Regions from separate parts of the Homo sapiens genome. Here regions 1 and 2 are each linked to region 3. Evidence: promoter capture Hi-C in 16 types of primary human blood cells and fetal thymus (Javierre and others, 2016). All regions are on one chromosome and are shown on one strand. Each heading gives the region's core, a stretch centred on a gene start or on the middle of the fragment in contact. The rest is flanking DNA. Distances are from core to core; before and after follow the strand shown. Region 1 has its middle 42 kb from the start of EMP1. Region 2 overlaps EMP1 (epithelial membrane protein 1). Region 3 holds the start of GPRC5D (G protein-coupled receptor class C group 5 member D).

Evidence for each region. The method cuts DNA at HindIII sites, captures the fragments that hold promoters and counts their contacts. A CHiCAGO score of 5 or more calls a contact.
Region 1: a contact is called between a fragment that was not itself captured here and the fragment with the promoter of GPRC5D in region 3, in 4 of 17 cell types (M0 macrophages, M2 macrophages, M1 macrophages and 1 more). The highest score is 6.5, in M0 macrophages.
Region 2: a contact is called between a fragment that was not itself captured here and the fragment with the promoter of GPRC5D in region 3, in 2 of 17 cell types (monocytes and naive B cells). The highest score is 6.6, in monocytes.

The regions. Positions count from the first base shown.
Region 1 is chr12:13,236,875-13,240,952 of GRCh38, forward strand. No RefSeq gene overlaps it. Among named protein-coding and RNA genes, the nearest start is that of EMP1, 42 kb to the left of the region's middle. The HindIII fragment of the contact is 524 bases long and covers 1,761-2,284 here.
Region 2 is chr12:13,219,789-13,223,674 of GRCh38, forward strand. It overlaps EMP1 (epithelial membrane protein 1), which reads left to right. Exons shown (of 5, transcript NM_001423.3): 5 at 1-153. Among named protein-coding and RNA genes, the nearest start is that of EMP1, 25 kb to the left of the region's middle. The HindIII fragment of the contact is 5,422 bases long and covers 1-3,886 here.
Region 3 is chr12:12,950,246-12,954,570 of GRCh38, forward strand. GPRC5D (G protein-coupled receptor class C group 5 member D) reads right to left here and starts at 1,925. Exons shown (of 4, transcript NM_018654.2): 1 at 1,862-1,925; 2 at 1-184. The coding sequence starts at 139. The region is part of intron 1 of GPRC5D-AS1 (GPRC5D and HEBP1 antisense RNA 1); the gene reads left to right. The HindIII fragment of the contact is 5,823 bases long and covers 1,883-4,325 here.

The DNA of each region.
Region 1 (4,078 bases), core at 773-3,272, 290 kb after region 3:
TTTACTACTGATCTGTCAGAGACCTTGAAAATCATCCCTGGCCAAGGCTCAGAGGTTTCTTAAGGGGCCAGCTAGAGCTTGGCATTATCAAGGCTTGCCATGAAGAGAAAATGCCCCCAAGACCCACCCAGGGTCAGATCTTTCATGCTCATGTGAACTTGTAGAATAATTATTCCAAAGTCCCAGCCACTACCCAGAAAGCAGTATATAGTTAATACGTTCCTGGCAAATATAAGTCCCTCTGCATGGCTCTGCAATTTAGACTACCACTCATGAGAATAACACCAAGGCCTAGACCAACAGCATTGTGTATGTACCCTGGAAAATACTTCAGATCTCATTGATTCATCTCCCAACCAGATCAAGTATGTGAGATAAACAGCCAGTTCCATGGGATATGGTTGCTTTGTTTTATTTGAGATTGTGTTTCAAACACACCACCTACCAGTACTACTACCAGTGCTGGAATATTTGGGGTACCCATTCCTAGGCTATATGTGAGCCAAGTTCAACAGATTGTATGATTCCCCACCAAGTTCAGAGGAAGGGTTGCCCACCAGGTACTCGCCGGTCTGAGCTAAGCAACTGCAGAATGAGGGAAACACACTTAACAGATGAGGCTGTGAATGCCGGTGCTGATGTCCTCTGTTCTAAGAGCAAATGATGTCTTCCATAATATGGATGCAGTCATGGCCAAATGTATATTCAGCAGTATGTTCCTCCCATCGCTGCTCTGGGGAGATAACGGATAATGCTATTCCTCCAGTAGTGTGAAGTGAGAGGGGGTCAAGAAAACATTTTCAGTTTAGAGCAACGGGGCGTGAGATGCATCCAATCTTATGCAATCCTAAGTCCCTGGGCACGAATGGAATTTGTAACCAGCAAAGAAATTCTTTATAATAATTTAATTTGTATGTGAGATTGAGCTTGTGAGAGTGAGTGACAGAGAGGTAGAGGGGAAAAGACAGAGGGAATGAGAGGGGAGAAAGACAATGAAAAAGATGAATGAGAATGAATAATGGGAGGCAAAGATAAAGGAAAAGCAATATAAAGCAGAGAGGGGAGAGAAAAGAAGTAATAACTTCTGATAATTGCGGAAATATATCACAAACATAATTGTATAAAAGGAGGGATTTAGATAGTGAACAGGAAAGTTGAGAGCATGGCTGAAGGTAGAAGAAAGAAGGAAGAAATGAATAACAGGAAAACAAAGAGAGAAAAAAAAGGAAAACATTTCAAGGAATAGGTAGGAAACAAGATGTGCCTTGGGAATTTCAATGAATTATTTTGTCTCCCAAGTTTTAAACTTACAATGTGTTCTGCCATGACGGTCTAATTCTCAATTAAGATATGCTAATAAGGCTGACCGCATACCATATACTCGCCATGCCTGATAAGCAGTTTAGCTTCTTTTTGGGTTTGGTGGGAGAGCAGTTATGTTTCCACACTGAAGTTTCTCATTGGCTTTCCTCCTACAAAGGCGCAAAATGACCACATGTTGTTCTTACTAATATTTGTTTTAGTCTGACACACTTCGATCTCTGCCGAGTTGACTACTAACTGCTTCGTACACACTTCGTATTCCTCCACCTGCTTTCAGTTACCTTCATTAAAAATATTCACATAAATCTTTATTAATAGAGAAAAATGGATTCACTCTGGTTTATTTATCTGTGGGTAAGTTTAATTATTTTCCAGTATGCAAAGCATCTTAGGAGGCTGCAAACATGGCTCAGAAGTAACATTGCCAGAAAAGGGGAAGCTTGTGCCATAGAGTCAACTTGCTGACCTGCAAGTAACAGACAGTGAATGTTAGCTGAATGATGGTAATTGAGTGAAAATTTGGACTGCCCTTCAAGGGATGTTAGAAAGAGTATCAGAAAAGGGCAGGAAGACTTAACATATATAGTGACCAATTACTGAGCATCCAAGCATAGTGAAAATCACCGTGCATATATTATCACATTTCACAGAAGCAGAACCCATTCTTTTTCATATGCAAATTTCTCCTTAAAAATCTCTGTCCTATGATACTGTGGGAACTCTAGGCTACTTCTCGATGGCTTCTAGGCATCCCCAGGAAGTGCGTATATTCTCCTGAAATCATTGCCAAGGGCTTACTGCAGATTATCCCAGGTTTCTCCTGCTGGGCTCACCTTGCCTCTCCACAGTGCACCACAATTTCTGGTCCGCTCCATCTTAAGATGTCATTGTAGATCTTCCCTTTATTTCCAAAGCCAATGCAATCACAAAGATATGGAGAGTAGCAATGGTTAAGATTATAAGCTTTGCAGTCAAACTTCTTGAGTTCAAATCCAGGCTCTGAATCTTACTAGTTGTATGACCTTAAGTTACTTGTATGACCTCCTGTACCTCAGTTTTTTACTCAGTTTTTTTACCTCAGTGAAATGAGGCTGATAATAATACTTTTTTCCCTGGGTTGCCATGAAGATTAAATAAGTTAACTCATTCTGCGAGTTAATTTTTATGTGAGATTGAGCCCGTGAGAATGAGTGACAGAGAGGTAGAGGGAAAAAAATGGAGGGAGTGAGAGAGGAGAAAGTGGGAAAGACAATGGAAAAGATAAATGAGAATGAATAATGGGAGGTAGAGATAAAGGAAAAGCAATAGAAAGCAGAGAAGTTAATTCATTAAAATACATAGAGCACTTTGAAGAATGCTTGCTATGTTGTAAGTACTTAATAAAGTTCGTTATTAGTGACAGGTTGTAAGGGTTAGGAAATTTTTTACTGAACACATGCATTTCTTAGGTTATAAAAAAGTATAGCTTTGAGGAGAAACAATGTGAAATTGGAAAACAGATTCTGCTGCTGCTAGAATCCATTGGCCAGTCCCTAATGCAGTCTCCCAGGGTTGTCTCCCTCCTTAGTCTCTGCCATCTTGCTGGAGCCATACTCTTCCATAGTCCATGCATTCTTGTCTCCCATTATTCCCCACGTCTTGAATCACAACTCCTAGAGTCTCAAGGAAGCCAAAAACAAGTAAATAGCATGACAGTCTCTGCCCCCAAGGCCTACAACTCTTTCATTTTGCTGTTTAGAAGTCAGAGGTCTTTATGGTATTAATCCCTCCCCCTAGATTGGACACTGAGTCTTACATCTGCATAACCACAAGTCCCACTCAAGTGTTTCACAAATAAAATGACAGTCTTCGCCCCAAAGATGAATTCTCCTGGCATTCCTACGATAAGGATAGGGTTGTAGGGGGGTGGGAACCCCTCCAGAGGCTCAGGATTTGTCATTAGCATTGAACATACTAAAAACATATGCTTTGACTAAGGCAGGCTTGTTCTGAGCCCTTGAAGCATGTTTGGTGTTCTTGATGGCCATCATCTTGAAGAAAAACCTGAGGTGCTTCCAAAAATATTCTAGGCACTAAATTAGTGAAGACGTACACTTTGTGGCAATGAGTCTGCAACTGTTCCTTGAAAACATCTGATGAGGCTGGAAAATAAGGTAAATGATTATATATATATATGCTTCCCCTCGCTACAAAATATACTGCCATAATCATCCTGGCTTGTGTTTCCACCACTTTGCAGAAATAGTTTTTTTTGAAAACTGTCAGTGTTCTCCAAGATGCTGTGTCATGTGGCTTTTCTTAACCCACATCTCCCTTCTTGACTCTTTAGGATGTTTGGGATTATTGAAATTCAGTTTTTATTGGATCTCCTGGTCCTTCAGTCTCCTGATTTTCCTTGAACCTCTGTTGCTCCTTCTTAATATATATATATATATATTTTTTGGCCTTCTCTTCTTTCCCCTTTCCTTCAAGTGTTTTTATGGCCAAGGTTTTGTCCTGGACTTTTTTTCTGTTTCTTACATTTTCTCCTTTAGTAACCTGATTCATTGCTATAGCTTCACATATAATTTCTCTGTAAATGAATCCCAAATTTATATCTCTAGCTTTGACATTTCCCCTGTCCATTTCATCTTTTTTTTTTTTTTTTTTGAGATGGAATCTCGCTCTGTCGCCCAGGCTGGAGTGCAGTGGCATGATCTCGGCTCACTGCGACCTCCACCTCCCAGGTTCATGCCATTCTCCTGCCTCAGCCTCC
Region 2 (3,886 bases), core at 952-3,451, 270 kb after region 3:
GTTCTAAAAATTTTCTTAAGTTGTTTGCTTGGAACTCAGAGTATATTTTTCCATACGAAAAATTCAGAACTATTTTATTTATGATATGGGCTAAAAAGACTTCTGTAATCTAGCTTGGAAACTTAATAATCATTAAACTTATTTTCAATGAGATACGACTGTTTAAATTCTGAAACCTGGAACCCTCTGTTGCCCTGCAAATGCTTTAGGAAAAGAAGAGTGTGTCTGATGGAGGATAAGATGGAAAGTGAATATGGATCCATATTCAGAAGACACGGTTGCATTACAGCAAAGGAACAGCTTTTTGCTGGCCATGCTAAGCATTTGACATTGATGTGGGAGAACATGGCATTCAGTATGACTCTGTCTGGATATATATAGTTTTGTAAATTGGGTGTTCTTAAGTTGAGACTGCATGTTTCATTCCAAAATCAATCTTAGTTTTCCCACTTGCATTAGCATATTGTATTAGTCCGTCTTCACACTGCTATAAAGACATACCCGAGACTGGGTAATTTATAAAGAAAAGAGGTTTAATTGACTCACAGTTCTGCATGGCTGGGGAGGCTTCAGGAAACTTATAATCATGGCAAAAGGGGAAGAGGTACGTCTTACATGGTGACAGGGGAGAGAGAGCATGCAAGAGAAGGGAAAACTGCATTATAAAACCATAAATTTTATAGAACCCACTATCCCAAGAACAGCATGAGGGAACCACCCTCATGATCCAATCACCTTCCACGGGGTCCCTCCCTCAACACATGGGGATTTGGGGGATTACAATTCAAGATGAGATTTGGGTGGGGGAACAGCCAAACCATATCATGTATCAATGCTTAAATTCAGTTTATCTGGGAATTTTGAATGATTCCAACTCCTTAGTATAGACATTTACAGGCTTTTGGGCATTATGAAATCGTACTATTTTTAATTTGATTTCACCACTTCTCCTCTGTCTTATAAAAAGCTGACATTGAGCACATGTGTCCTTATAATTTTTAAGGTGAATCAAAAGTAAACCTGTTTTGAGTATTTGGATATAGTTTTGCAGTAGCTCTTGAGGTTACTAGGGTTGCAAAATCAAGTTTGAGAATTATAGTGCTAGATTTATGGGTGAAATGGATTACACTAATTAGTCTGACATTTAGTCACCTTGTTTTAAAAAAGCAAGGCAATATTCTGGCAGTGATATTGAACTCCAGATTTCTTTCCATATACTCACTTATGAAATTTACTTCAACATGGCATACCAGAACTGACTACTAATTTCTTTCCCCAGAATAATTTAAATTCTTTACGTCTCATTGTATTTAGTACTTGTCAGAGCTCCTGGAAGGACAGATAAAAGATAAATGCAGACAATTATTCATTGCTCAGCTTAGGTTCATTTCAGCCGGTCATTCTCTTGACCTTACCCTGGACGTCCTTATTCCCCAGAACCACTCTTCCTAATTCAGAGGAACGTGCGTGGCTCCTAATTTCTGGAGCTAACACCCACTACCACCAGTTTTGAACTCCATGCTCTTTTTTATTTTCCAGATGGAGTCTTGCTCTGTCACCCATGCTGGAGGACAGTGGCGCCATCTCTGCTCACTGAAACCTCCTCCTCCTGGGTTCAAGCAATTCTCTTACCTCAGCCCCCCAAGTAGTTGGGATTATAAGCGTGTGCTACCACACCTGGCTCAATTTTATATTTTGTATTTTTAGTAGAGATGTTGGCCAGGCTGGTCTCCAACTCCTGACCTCAAGTGATCCACCCACCTCGGCCCTCCCAAAGTGCTGGGATTACACGTGTGAGCCACCGTGCCTGGCCAGAAGGCTGTGCTCTCTTAGCTCTTCAAGGATGCTCTATTGTTATTCTTCTTCTCCCTATATCTCTACTGGAGATTTTGTCTTGTGGGTAAAATATGCTTAAGTTTACCATATCTTAAGCAAAAGAAAACACACAAACAACAACAAAAAAATCACTCCTCTCTATACTAATACTTTGCCTCTTGGTCTCTTATTATCCGTCTCCACCAGGCCCTGTCTCTGGGGTCAAGGGTAAGAGCTCACATAGAGGCACACCATATATCTACATATTTGAAAGTTGTAATATCAAGTTAACAAGCCATTAAATAAAAGTGTTCTATTGTCCTACCTTGATAGAAATACCTAGAAGGTCAGGTTAAATTGAAAAAACTCAGACTCCTTGTAGTCCTGGGGTAGAAGTCGGCTTACTGGGGGAGTGGGTGTCAGGCTCTCTGCTCATAGCTTGACTTTCTTCTCCCTTCCTCCTCTGCCCCATCTCCCACCATGAGAGACACGGAGTGCATATGAGTGGGTACTCCGGCCCACACATCTGAGAACAGCCCTCACCCATGCCCCATCTTGCAGACAGCTGCCCCTGGGCCATCTCATAGGCCATCCCATAACACAGTCCACTCTCTATTTGACAGGCCCAGGGAGAGGGGCTTAGTCATGAGCATGAGGACATTTGGCCAGGGACTTTGGCAGCACGAGCAATCAAAATGCAGTCTGGCAGCAGGGTGTGGCCTCCAGGTGGGTGTGCTCCTTTGGTCCTGAGCCCAAGGACTTCTTGCCCCCGGGAGGGTGTGGCTGGAGGAGGGTTGGAGCAAAGCCAGGAAAGCACAGGCCTAGAGAAGGCCTCCCGCCTGATCTAAGGGTGCAAGGCTCAGGCCTCTCTTCCCACTCCCTCACCTCGGGCCTCCCTGGAGCCAATCAGCTTCTGCCCTCAGCACTCCAAAGTGATAGCTCTGCTGAGGATCAAGATTCACTTTATATTCTCCAATCCAATGGGCACTCTTAGCCTGTACCTTTTTGTTTTTTTTTTTTTTGCCTGCTGCTTATTGTATCTTTGTATTTTGCATGGGATTTAATTAAAATTCCTATAATGAATGATCACCTATATTGGAATGAATCCAAAAACTGCATCTAGACTCAGATCAGCTTTCTGAAGCCAGGGCCGTAAGAACTACAAATTCAACTGAACCCCTGAAGTTCTCCTCCCTTTCTTTGACTTCCCCATCTCAGGAAATAGCCACCTATCACTTAGAATTACAGGCCAGATATCCAAGCGTCACTCACCATTCCTCCTTCTCCCCCATTCTTCACATTTAATTAATAACTGTATCTTGGTGATTCTAATTCCCAAATATTTCTAGATTCTTTCCCTTTCTTTCCATTCCCTTCAGTGTGATCTTAGTTTAGACCTTTAATTGCATTTATTTAAAGTAGCTGAATAGGCTCATAAGAATTCACTGCTCCAACTAATTTTCCACTCTGTTGCAAAAACTGATTTTCTTGCAGTGCAAATATGAGCGTGCCATTCTCCTGCTTTTAATCCTTCATTTTCTCCTTCAGGTTGTGCAGGATAAAATTCAGAACTTGTCTATTGCTGCCTTTTCCCCCATGGCCACTCTATCCCAGGGCTAAAACACACACTTATACCATGTTGTGGGGGTTTTCCCCACATGTCATTTGTTTTTCTGAAGGTCCTTCCCCTGGTATCCGGCTAACTCATCCTGATTTCACAGGATCAGAGCACATTCCTCATCTCCAAAAGGGTGGCCTGATGCCCCAGGCCCTACTGAAATGAGCTTTGTCAATGTTTACATAATATCATATGTGTATTTCATCAGAGCATTTGTCACAGAATATTTGAATAGTGGGTTAAACTGCATGCTTCTCTCACTGGACCATGAGCTACAAGAGGGCAGGGAACTCATATTTCATTTCCTTTCCTTCAGCATTTAGCAGGATGCCTGGCAATTAGCAGATGTTCAATATAATTGTGTGAGAAGGGCTGGGGAAGGTGCTGGGACACATCATCACGGGTGACAGAACCGGTCCCCTGTGGCACTCACTGTTTCGGGGAATTGGACAG
Region 3 (4,325 bases), core at 675-3,174:
GGAAGAGAAATGCTAAGAGTAGCAGAATTGTGACCACGATGCCAAGTATGGCCAGGGACTCCAGAATGATGCCCCATGGCCCCTCGGCGTCACAGAGAAGAAAATAGTCTCCAGTGGACTCGATGCAGTCCTTGTACATGGTGACTTATGGGTGTGGACCTCACCAGAATGGTTTTCTGATGCCCTGCAGAAAAAGGATGAGACAAATTGACAACTCTGCATCTCTTAGGTTGGTGCAAAAGTAATTGTGCTTTTTGCTATTAAAAGTAATGGCAAGAAGGCTGGGTGCGGTGGCTCACTCCTGTTATCCCAGCACTTTGGAAGGCTGAGGCGGGCCGATCACTTGAGGTCAGCAGTTCAAGACCAGCCTAGCCAACATGGTGAAACCCCATCTCTACTAAAAATACAAAGATTAGCCGGGTGTGGTGGTGCACACTTGTAATCTCAGCTACTCGGGAGGCTGAGGCAGGAGAATCGCTTGAACCCAGGAGACAGAGTTTACATTGAGCCGAGATTGCCCCACTGTACTCCAGCCTGGGTGACAGAGTGAGACTCTGTCTCAAAAAGCAAAAAACAAGGCAGGGTACAGTGGCTCATGCTTGTAATCCTAGCACTTTAGGAGGCCAAGGTGGGTGGATCACTTGAAGTCAGGAGTTCAAGACCAGCCTGGCCAACATGGTGAAACCCCATCTCTACTAAAAACACACATAAAAAATTAGCCGGGCATGATGGCATGCGCTTATATTCCCAACTACTTGGGAGGCTGAGGCAGGAGAATTGCTTGAACCCAGGAGGCAGAGGTTGCAGTGAGCCAAGATCGCACCACTGCACTCCAGCCTGGGCGACAGAGTGAGACGCTGTCTGAAAACAAAAACCGAAAAACAAAAAACACACAAACAAAAAAAGTAACGTCAAGAACCGCAACTGCTTTCGCACCAACCTAATACCTACAAGAATGCCTATTGGGTGGTCCATGCTGGGCACTGTAATTTCTCTCATTCTGAAATGAAGACACCTGGGCATATGAAATAAATGTCCTTACCAAAATTGTTCCTAGGACACTGTCAAGAGCCTGAGTTACATTTTGTTTGACTCCTGATACTTATCTAAATGCTAAGCTTCCCTGGGGGAAGAAATTCAGAGATATATGCAAACATAGTCTAAGGGGATGGGAAATGCCATCACACATATTACCCCAAATTTATAGCAGTTTTATATAGGATGTCAGTAAAGGAAATGAGAAAGGCAACCTAAACCCTTCAAAACTATCTTGGCTTCATCCTGCTGGGAAAAGCTGAACAGGCTTCACTTGATAATATGTCCATTTGTGTATGCTAATTTCCAAGGCTTTGAAAGCTAATACAAAATCTTTTTCATAAAAGGAGGTGTATGAGAATGTTTGCATGATTGATGGAATTCAGTTATATCAGACTCCAGAACAAGGACTGCCAACATTAATGGATCATTGGATCGTTCTAGACACTGATGCACTGCTTGAAGGAGACAGGCAGATAAATTACTGGGAATAAAATTTCCCAGTAATTTTAATGACTGTTCCTTCTTTCAGTTAATTCAAGTCAATCCAATGCAGCAGGTTGTAGTTAAACACCTATTGTGTGTTCATCAAAGAATTGTACAAAATGGTCCCTTTCTTTAAATACCTTTTTGAACAGTTTAGTACGAAAGTCCATGTCTTGACTGAGGTAGCCTAGGAAAAAGATCCCACATATTCATTTGAAAAAAAAAAATCAATTGCAATTGAATACCCCTTAGCTCTACTTCCCTTCAGTTATCCCCAGACCAGATGGCTGGAGTGACCCAGGTTTACAGCTGAGAACATGGCCCCCCAATTCCAACTTACCTTCTCCGTGTCCACTCTGGAAGCTTAGGCTGTAGTGCTGGCAAAGTTGTAACTGCCAATGAGTAAGAAAGAGCCAACCTCAGCTTCTTTAATCTCTCCCCAAATGGGCGGAAGAACCGTAGGCTCTCACTGAGGTTCCTGCAGTATCTATAAAAAGAACCGGAAGGACAGAAAGACACACCTATTCCAGTTTCACAGCAACTTTTCTACAGAGATTTCCTTGGTGAGAATAATTCTTTTTCATTCTACTGCTGACCAGAGGCACCTTGGCCTTAGGGAGCGGGTGTAAATCTGAAAGTGGGTATAAATCTAGGAAAGACGGCTTCCTCCCTGTGTATTGCAACACATTCAGGGAAGCTACACAAGGCCCTCAGGTGACTTACACCAGGATACCTCGTCCTTCTTCTGACCTATTGCCTAAAAAGCCATCTCTGGAGACTTTCTCACATCTTGATTTTTTTTTTTTTTTTTTTTTTGAGATAGAGTCTTGCTCCATCACCCAAGCTGGAGTGCAATGGCACGATCTCGGTTCATTGCAACTTCTGGCCTCCCGGATTCAAGCAATTCTCCTGCCTCAGCCTCCCGAGTAGCTGGGATTACAGGCGCATGCCACCACATTTTGTATTTTTAGTAGAGACGGGGTTTCACTATGTTGGCCAAGCTGGTCTCAGACTCCTGACCTCGTGATCTGCCCGCCTTGGCCTCCCAAAGTGCTGGGATTACAGGTATGAGCCACCTTGCCCGGCCCCCACATCTTGATTTTAATTCAAAAGAGCATCCATTCAACAAAGTACAGGTAATGAGGTTTCACTGGGCCATAAGGAAGGGTGGTTTTGTCTACTACTGGCATTAAAATGGCCAGTGGCAGGCAAAACTGTGAATCAGTCTGTGAATTTATCCCAAGATAAAGAACTGACAATTAAAGGTCACCGGCTGATACTTGAATACCATATTCCTTTTCTTCTATGGTGACACAAAATACAGCACAGCACAGTGTCCAGCCTACACCCACCAACCGCACCCCGCCACCTCCAATTTACTCCTTGATTTTCTTCCTGAATATATGTTTGTTTTTTTTTTTTTTTGAGATGGAGTCTCGCTCTGTCGCCCAGGCTGGAGTGCAGTGGCGCGATCTCGGCTCACTGCATCCTCCGTTTCCTGGGTTCAAGTGATTCTCCTGCCTTGGCCTCCCGAGTAGCTGGGATTACAGGTGCATGCCACCACGCCCGGCTAGTTTTTTATATTTTTGGTAGAGACGGGGTTTTACCATGTTGGCCAGGCTTGTCTTGAACTCTTGACCTCAAGTAATCTGCCTGCCTCTGCCTCCCAAAGGGCTGGGATTACAGGTGTGAGCCACCACACCCAGCCCCTGAATATATGTATTTCGACAGAGGACTGCTGAAGACCCCAAACCAGTGTCTGGTTTCAAGGTGCTTGTGATCTGGCTCTCCCTTTCTTACCCACCTGTACTTCCTTCACATCTCCAGGCTCTATGGTTTAGCCTCCTTGGTTTTCCCACTGGCTCACAAAAAAAATAAGTTCCCAAGTGCTCACCTCTGTCCCTGTCCGAAACTGCCTTGTGCTTGATTCCCATTTATCCTATTTTTGACCCAAATTCATTCCCTCCCTGTAGGATTTTCTTCACCTTATCTCCTCTATGACTCTTCCTGCCTTCCCTCATCATTCTAGACCTCGCTGATCACCTTCCACCAGGAACTATACAAGACTTGGGGTCTGTTCTGTTCAAAATTACAGAAACCCTATTTTCTGCCTATTAGTTAACTTATGAATACATATTAAGTAATAATGAATTGAAATAAATGAATAATAAATGTCTCAATTTCTGTTATATGAATTAATCTCATCTCCTGATTGGATTTATAGCTGTCTAGGGGTCAGGTTCCACATTTTATGTCCCCATAGTACCTGCTTCTATGTGGAGAACCTCCTGGGTGATGGATAATTCAATTAATGGAATGATTCTAAAGATAAAATTCCAGATCTTTCAGAAGGTCCTTTTTAGTGGTGTGGTTTTTCAACAGATGTGTGTTAATGGAAAACACCTGCAAATAAGTGAGAGACTTAACAAACCCTTGACAAAATCATTCTGAAGTGGTGTTCTATCTTTAGAGTTCCTTAACTTCAAAAAGCCATTTTCTCCTATGAGAGAAGAAGATTCTAGGGATGATAGAATTTTCTTACATCCAATTACACCTTAAGCTCCCCTTTACCTGCTTTGGGTATAATAGCAGTCTTTCCGAAGCTGTGAAGGCTAATGTTTACGTTAAGGGTAAAGGGATTTTTCAGATGATGAAATGTGACATCCGTGAGCATCCACTCAAAGAGCATAGTGAGTGGTTAAACTGCTGTCAGCAGAACTGCAGGAGGATTTTCCATTGAATTCTTCCAGGAGTACTATTTTGTTGATCCTGCACCTCCCACCCCCTTCCTGCTGGTTAGTCAT